3 separate regions of the Homo sapiens genome follow, and regions 2 and 3 are each linked to region 1. Evidence: promoter capture Hi-C in 16 types of primary human blood cells and fetal thymus (Javierre and others, 2016). All regions are on one chromosome and are shown on one strand. The core of a region is centred on a gene start or on the middle of the fragment in contact, and the rest is flanking DNA. Distances in the headings are between cores, read along the strand shown.

What was found. The method cuts DNA at HindIII sites, captures the fragments that hold promoters and counts their contacts. A CHiCAGO score of 5 or more calls a contact.
Region 2: a fragment that was not itself captured here is called in contact with the fragment with the promoter of GAREM1 in region 1 in 2 of 17 cell types (endothelial precursors and M0 macrophages); the score reaches 8.8 in endothelial precursors.
Region 3: a fragment that was not itself captured here is called in contact with the fragment with the promoter of GAREM1 in region 1 in 1 of 17 cell types (M0 macrophages); the score reaches 5.7 in M0 macrophages.

What each region holds. Positions count from the first base shown.
Region 1 is chr18:32,469,473-32,472,206 of GRCh38, forward strand. It overlaps GAREM1 (GRB2 associated regulator of MAPK1 subtype 1), which reads right to left and starts at 1,410. Exons shown (of 6, transcript NM_001242409.2): 1 at 836-1,410. The coding sequence starts at 956. RefSeq lists a silencer at 1,165-1,684. The HindIII fragment of the contact is 2,356 bases long and covers 1-1,587 here.
Region 2 is chr18:32,277,005-32,279,738 of GRCh38, forward strand. All of the region lies in intron 4 of GAREM1 (GRB2 associated regulator of MAPK1 subtype 1), which reads right to left. Among named protein-coding and RNA genes, the nearest start is that of MEP1B, 88 kb to the left of the region's middle. The HindIII fragment of the contact is 1,799 bases long and covers 525-2,323 here.
Region 3 is chr18:32,295,695-32,298,428 of GRCh38, forward strand. The region is part of intron 3 of GAREM1 (GRB2 associated regulator of MAPK1 subtype 1); the gene reads right to left. Among named protein-coding and RNA genes, the nearest start is that of MEP1B, 110 kb to the left of the region's middle. The HindIII fragment of the contact is 3,169 bases long and covers 1-2,734 here.

The DNA.
Region 1 (2,734 bases), core at 160-2,659:
AATTGCCACCTTACGTGTCATCACTCTCCAACTGAAAGGTGTCTACTTGCTTGACAGTATGCGCAACTATGTGTTTGCAGCTGTCACACCGCAGAATAAACAGTTGGAGGAAGGAGTTGGGTGGGTTTCTGGTGGTCAGTTTCAGGAAATACACCCTTCTTAGTTCTGAGCTCAGGTTCCGAATCAATACGTTTTGGAGACTTATTTTTTTTTCCAGACTGGAAATGCGCTAAACCTAATAGTTAACCTTAAGCATGCCATCACTTCTGCTGAAAACATTTTCTACACACAGCCCCAAATTACTTTCAGTTGGGTTAAACAAAACAGACAAGCTGTAATACAAGGTCTCTGAGAAATGTGATCCTTTTCAATGGTCACCCAGGAGCTTTTCCTTTAAATCTGTTTGGCGGGGGATGGGGGAGATAGGGAGGAGAGCACCCAAATTAAGATGCCACCCGGAGCACAATGATATTCTCAAGAAAGTTGCCTAAGATAACTCTTCAGGGTTTCCCTGGTTGAGTAATTCTTGCAGGAGGGTGGGGAGGGATATCTGGCGTCCAAGATTACGATCTGCAGAGGTCTCCCTATGTTGACTTTTTTTTTAGGGCGTCCTTTTTAATTATACTGCAAGGACTCTGATTTCCACCTCCTTGTCTGCTGCTGGGGGGAGTTGAGAGCAACGCGCCAGGGCTGCGGCAGCCGCTCGGGCCAACTCCGGCGCTCAGGGGCGGGCAGCCCACTCCCCGCGGGTCCCACCCTCTCCAGCACACGCGCGCACACCCGCGTGGAGACGGCTGTCCTCGCCCGTCTGCCCCGCGCCCCAGCTGGGACTCACCGTTGTCCAGGCGCGCGATCTGGGGCAGCCGGTAAGTGCTGACCAGGAGGTCGAGCGGCACGGCCACCGAGCTCCACTTCACATCCTTGAGGCTGCAGCCCAGCGAGGGCGCCGGGTCCATCTTCCCCGAAGCCTCCTGTCCCGCGCTCCCCCGCCGCCGCCACCGGCACCACCCGCGCCTCGGCGGCCGCCGCTGCTCGCGCTCGCGGTCTGGGGCGCGCGGGAGGCGCCGGGCAGCTCCGGCCGCGGGCAGCCGGGGGGGCGCGGCGACTGGGGCGGCCCGGAGGGAGGGGGCCGGCGCCCGGCTCAGCTGCCGCTGCGGGGCATGGCTGGGGCGCCCCGCGTGCCCTCACGCCCGGAGAAGACTCAGAGCAGCCGCGCGGCTGCGGGCGGCGGCGGCGGCCCGGGTGGCTGCGGCGGCTCCCGCTCCGCCTCCTCCTCTGGCCCTGGGTCTGCAGCTGCGGCGGCCGCCCGCTCGCCTCCTCCTCCTCTTACCCCTCCTTCCCTCCGCCTCGAGCGTGTGAGGAGGAGCCGCGGGTCTGAGAAACGCCATAGCAGCGCTCCCAGCACTGACTAATCAACAAGGTGCGAGCAACGCCTGCGCAGCTCTGGGAGACACCGCCTCCGCCTCCCAGGCGCCGCCCGCTCCGCCCCCAGCTCGGCCTCCGCCTCCCGCAGCTCCCGCGGCCCGGCAGGCTCGCGTCAGCTCCCCGGCCGGGGCCGCCAGCGCCCGCGGCTCGGCGCGCTCCGCAAGCTTTAGCTCTCGCTCCCCCGTCCGACCACTCGGGCGCCCTGCAGTCTCGCCGGGTGCTGCTGCGCGCCCCGGCTCCTTCCCCGCCCAGGCCCGTCCCCGGAGCCCGGGAATTGCCGAGCGAGCTCAGGTATCGCTCCCTGAGTCGTGGTGTCGGGCACCGTCCGCCTCCACTCCCATCCTGGCAATGCGGTGGCTAAATACAAGGCACAAAAGATACCTTTAGTGGCGCTCCCTCTTGCTTCCCGGTGACCCAGACTTTGGTCAGAAGAGTACCACAGCCCAACGGGGCTGCGGACGGCAGGCGTGGAGCACGCCTTGGCGTTTCCCCTCAACCCTACTCCTCTACCATCGGAGCTGGAAATGACTCCCAACAGTCTCAGCTTTGGCTACTAGATAAGATAAAAAGGGCAAAGCACCGAAAAGCGGAAAGGTGGTGGGTGATGAGTACCCACATACAGGAAGGTGGCCATTCGGTCTAGGACCTTCACTGAGTGAACGAGCTGCTGGAGGCGACGGGAGTTGATGAGGCCACCAAACACCGTAGACACGGAGATGGGAAGGGAAAACTAGGTTACTGGGAGGCTGCTGGGGTCAGCTGTTCTCACCCGCTTTTCCCATTCAGTTCTCTTCTCATCTTAAAGGTTGGGATCATTCTCGTTTTCTAGGTATATGTACCAAGACATTAGGTAGTTTGGCAAGATTTTATAACTCGTAGATGGCCGTGCTGGGATTCAAACCTACAGTTTGCTTTGCATGATCAATCATTCTCTGTCTCTCCCGATGTTTGACACGGCCTGCTCACTGTGGACAGAGCTCAGAATATAAAGGTGGCATGTCCTGCCTTGTATGCTAATCTGCTTTCTTTCTTTCTGTCTTTCTTTCTCTTTCTTTCGCTTGCTTAACATTTTGTTAAAATAGCAGAGGTGAGTGGTTGCTAAGGTTGCGTATCTGCTCTGTTTTCAACACGTATTCAATGTTCAGTGCTTGATAAGGTACAGCAAGTACCCGCTTCGCCAGCCCAAGGGGACTTGAAAACATCCCGCTGCCTTTTCGTGGCCTGGCTTAAAAGGTCTGTGCTAATAAACCACTCCATTAACATTTGAAGAAAAACACAGATTCTTCTACACCCACCTTCCTGATCCTCT
Region 2 (2,734 bases), core at 174-2,673, 190 kb before region 1:
ATGGAGAGATGTCAGGAAGTCAGGAAAGAGGCTGGAAGAGGTTCCCCTTATGTGACAGCTAGCAAGTCACTGGTGATCTTAGCAAATGAGGCGTGAGTCAAGTGAGGGGGCAGAGCCAGACTCTAGTGAGTCAAAGTTAGACAGGAGGTAAGAGTGGTGTTCGTGAGGGCAGATCACTCTTCTCAGGAATTGTCTGGAAAGAAAGGAGTGAGGCAGTTGTTACAAAAGGATACTGGTTTGAAGAAGGCATGCCTTTTAAAAAAAAACTTTAAAGAAACTTGAAAAAATGTGCCTGGGTACGTATATGCATGCATGTAAGCTGGAGGTCAACTGTACACTGATGCCTGGGACCCTGTGCTCACCTTTAATTTAAGAAGATAAAGGGGAGACCATTTTTCCATTGCTCCCTGCCTCTGTCATGCCATCACTGGCCACATAAAGCTAGAAAAATAAATTAATGGTAGCATATCATCTTAACAGTGAAAGCAAAGATGAAACACACTAATAGAACAAATGCTTTGGAAAGCTTCATGTTTCTAAGTGGAAGTGGTCAACAAAGTCAAGTGCAACTCCAATCTATGGTCCAAATCAAACACATCATAAAATGGAACTATTTTCTTTACTTTCAGAATACTGCCCAGGGAGCTTAACGTCATTTCCTGAGTCCTGGAATAGACATTTAACCTTCTTTTCCCTTCTCTCCTTACAGTTCTAACTCTTGCTTAGTTGGGAGGGAATTGAGCACAGGTCAAGGATCAGTAATTTGTCTCCTCTAAATTGCAACATGTTGAAAATAATGCACGAGAATTTGTTAACAGTAGGAAGCTCATCATTGCATGAGTGGAAAGCAGAGTTACATGTAGATCTTTGGAGGACAAAAACTGAAACATACATACAATTGGAGTGCTTTCTACATAGTATCTATGAAATAATTTCTTTCTCCTGTTACACCTCTTTCTCTGATACTTCCTAGGGGTTTATGAAACAATATGTCTAAGACTGGGGGCTTTTTGGTACAACAGCATTTCTTGGAAAGCCTTTGTTTTTCACAACTTCTGACTCCTCTGTTCTGTGGAGGAAACAGAACTTTCACATGCAGTCACTAACAGGACCAAAGAGCTTAAGAAACGTAAAAGGACAGTTAACTAAGGCATGGTCTTAGCAGTTTTCAGATAGCCTTTTGGGAAAAAAATCAATTTCAGAGCAGTGGTGGGTGCTCAACTCTTACATACAAGATGATGGATCTAGGGACATCTGCTGACAGGGCCATGTATTTCCTGAGTTAACCTTCTAGAATCAACTGTCACATGCCTGGCAGGGGCGTGGGGGAGAGAGTATACCTCCTGTCTCAAAGTTCATATTGTTTGGAATTGTGGACAATCAATAAGGAGATTTTGGCATACTTAGGTGGTGTAAGGATCGTTTTGTTTCCATATTGACAATGATTAAGAAAATACATACACTGTAGGGGAGCTTGATTTAAAATGAGATTCACCTTTCTTGTGCATTTTCTTCCCTAAAAAGCCAAATGCAGGACAATGTCAGCAACCCAAAGAAAGGAGTTTTGTAACCATGCTTCCTTGAACTTTGTAACTTTGCCTTCACTGACTGCCCTCTGCCCTGTATTTTACATTTCTTCCCACACTCCCAGATAACAAAATCATTACAGCCGTTAAGAAACCTTATTTATAAAGAGGCTTTTATACAGAGTTCATAACCCTGTCACATAACCATCAGCGGATATTTTCAGTCAAACAGAAATTAAAGTTTTATAATGACAAAGTACAATAAATGAACCTCTATTTGATTAATTACACAAGGGCAAATGTGATTTACAGTCAAAATCCTGATTCTTAGATGCGTGAGCTTCTTTTTTCCATTTTTATACATTGATGATAAGGACCTAAGACAGACCTTTCTCAGAAATGGTCTCCAATATTCCAGCCTCAGGCAAGGGAGGCCCAGGGGAAGGAGCGGGCAGCCACTTACTCAGTGGCAGGAGGGGCAAGTGGTTCTGAAAAGATGTACTTGTTTAACATTTAGGGTGCTTTCATGGACTCAGAAAGTATATGCCATTGAGGAGTAGAATAAAGATCTTTCCTGAGCAAGGAGTGTACGTGATAAATATACTTAAGTAGTGTATAACCTTCCTATTAATGTGATTTTATACAAATGGTATATACCTAATTGTACAGGTTTGGAACAAGACTTATCCAATAGAACAGGGTCCCCAACTTTTGGGATATGGACTGATACTGGTCTGTAGCCTGACAGGAACCAGGCTGCACAGCAGGAGGCGAGCAGCTGGCAAGTGAGCCAGTGAAGCTTCATCTGTATTTACAGCTGCTCTCCATCCCTTGGATTACTGCCCCAGCTCCAGCTCCTGTGAGATCAGTGGCAGCATTAGATTCTCATAGGAGCATGAACCCTATTGTGAACTGCACATGTGAGGGATCTTTGCACGTTCCTTATGAGAATCTAGGTTGCGTATTCCTTATGAGAATCTAATGCCTGATGATCTGTCACTGTCTCCCATCACCCCCAGATAGGACCATCCAGTTGCAGGAAAACAAGCTCAGGGCTCCCACTGATTCTACATTATGGTGAGTTGTATAATTATTTCATTATATATTACAATGTAATAATAATAGAAATAAAGTGTACAATAAATGCAATACACTTGAGTCATCCCGAAACCACTCCCTCCCCCAACGCCAGGTCCGTGGAAAAATTG
Region 3 (2,734 bases), core at 113-2,612, 170 kb before region 1:
AGCTTTGTTGTTTCCAATAGTGAAGTGAATTTCTCCGTAGGAGACATTGTAAGTACAGAAATGACAGCACAATATTGTTTTAATGGGAATATATGCTGCCAAGGCTTAAAGTCCATTTTGGATGATTCAGGTAAGTATTGCTATTATTTTTTAACAAGATCTCAACCTAACTGTGTTTACTTTTAGTACTTCGGTATTCATCTGGTTCTAACATAGATGCTAGGCATCTAAATTCAAGCCTAGGAATTTAAATACATTTTAGCTTTTTCTTTTTTTTTTTTCTTTTGAGATGGAGTCTCACTCTGCCGCCCAGGCTGGAGTGCAATGGTGTGATCTTGGCTCACTGCAACCTCCGCCTCCTAGGTTCATGTGATTCTCCTGCCTCAGCCTCCCAAGCAGCTGGGACTACAGGCACGCGGCACCATGCTCAGCTAATTTTTGTATTTTTAGTAGAGAAGGGGTTTCACCATATTGGCCAGGGTGGTCTTGAACTCTGGACCTTGTGATCCGCCTGCCTCAGCCTCCCAAAGGGCTGGGATTACAGGCGTGAGCCACCACGCCCAGGTAGCTTTTTATTTGGAATAATCTCAGATTTGCAGAGAAGTTACAAAGGCAGTACAGAAAGTTCCTGTATACTCTTTACCTAGCTTCTGTTAACATGTTATGTGACCATGGCATGTTTATCAAAACTAAGAAATTCACATTAGTACAATACTATTACATAAAGTACAAGTTTTATTTGGATTTCACCAGTTTTTTTCCCATGAGTGTCATTTTGATATCCCAGGATCAAGCCAGGATACCACACTGCCTCTGGTCCTCCGATCTGTGAATTTCTTGGCCTTGTTTCTAAGGCTTTGACAGTTTTGAAGAATATAGCTCAAGGTTTTTGTTTGTTTAGAGCTAAACATCATTTATAAATGACAGTGCTTGACACATACAAGGGCTTTCTTTTTCCATAGGACTTGTAGTTTCAAGTTTTCAGTTATTATTATTATTTTTTTTCTTGGCAGTTTTTTTTTTTTTTTAAGAGACTGGGTCTTGCTATGCTGCTCAAGCTGTACTTGAACTCCTAGGCTCAAGTGATCCTCCTGTCTCAGCCTCCCAAGTGGCTGGGACTAGAGGAACAGGCTGCTCTGTCTGGGTCCTGGTTTCAGTTATTTTATTCTCTTGACTTAGGTCACCAAGAATCATCTGCTATCAATTTTAGCCTTTGGTTTATCCCTAAGGCTTTTACTTTCAACCAGCATCTAGTTAAACTTACAAAAATATAGATCAAAGGTCAGCAAACTAATACCCACAGTCCACACCTGGCCCACCACTTGGTTCTGTAAATAAAGTTTTATTGGGACACTGCCACACCCATTCATTTATAAATAGTCTATGGCTGTTTTCACGCTATGATGGCAGTGCTGAGTAGCTGCAACAGTGACTGTATGGCTTGCAAACTCTAAAATACGTGCTCTCTGTTTCTTACAGTAAAGGTTTACTGATACTGGGTATAGATGGATGAAAAGAACCATGGCCTTTGGAAACTGACAGATACAATACTATCAGCTAAACTACAAGCTGAGTTTCAATCTTGCCTTTACAGTGTAGTGACTTCAGACAAAATGCTTTTAGTTTTTTGAGCCTTAGGTTCCTCACCTATAAAATGGAACATCACCATCTATTTTGCAGGCTAAGTGAACGTATGTAAACAAATGCTCACAGTGCTTGGCACATGGTAGGCTCTCAATAAATGGAGGCCATCGTTACTATTACTTTTATTAACAAAACATTTTACTTTTTTTAAGTGTTTCACATTGCCTTTCACACCTCTGTATTTTCACATAGATTTCTAAGTTTTCATCTCCTACTGTGTTGAAGCCCAAACCACTACTTCTAAGTATTATCCTTCTCTGTACTGAATATCGTTCAAATTTTTATTGACTATGTTATCCCAGAATAAAACTTAATGCCAGAATAGAGCCTGAAATATCATTACAATTATATCCCAAAGGATGTGAACATATGGAAATAATTCAAAATATACAATTTTAGAATAGTCTAGTCTGCAAAACTCTCAGCTGCACTGCTATACTTCCTTTTTATTAGAACTTTGTGAAAAACTTGGCGAGTCACCCATTTGAATAAAGATGGAGACAGGGATAAGATGCAGACAGGGATCCGGAAACAAAAAATGTGTTTCTATCCCTTTAAATCAATATTTACTATATTTTTCCTAATTTATCTTTATAAACATACACCTTCCAGAATTAAGAAATGATAAGTCTAGTGAAGTACTGCACAGGAAATGAACTGAAAGATAATGTCCACCAGTTTTTGAGACTCATATCAAACAGTACACGTACAGATTAAACAGATCAAAGTTCTCCTTACTAAATGTCACTATCTGGGCACATTCAACAGTTTTGTCTACATTTTCGTGTATGTGTGTACTTCTTAAATAACTTACTCCTACTCTCATACATAAAAATGTGTAACATATGTGAGCACAATCTGTATCCCATGCTTCCAACTCTGAAGTCATTATTAATGCTAGCAATTAGCCCTGAATAAATTATACAACTAACGTACTGACCAATTTTGTGGTCACTGCCAGTGACAGATGAAAAATCTCATAAATAAATGCTCTTTCTTTAGCAGTAGAGCCAAATAGTCTCCTCAGGTTTCTACAGATGTAATTTATTTGCATAATTTTTTTCCTTTTTTTTTTAATAGCAAAAGAAAC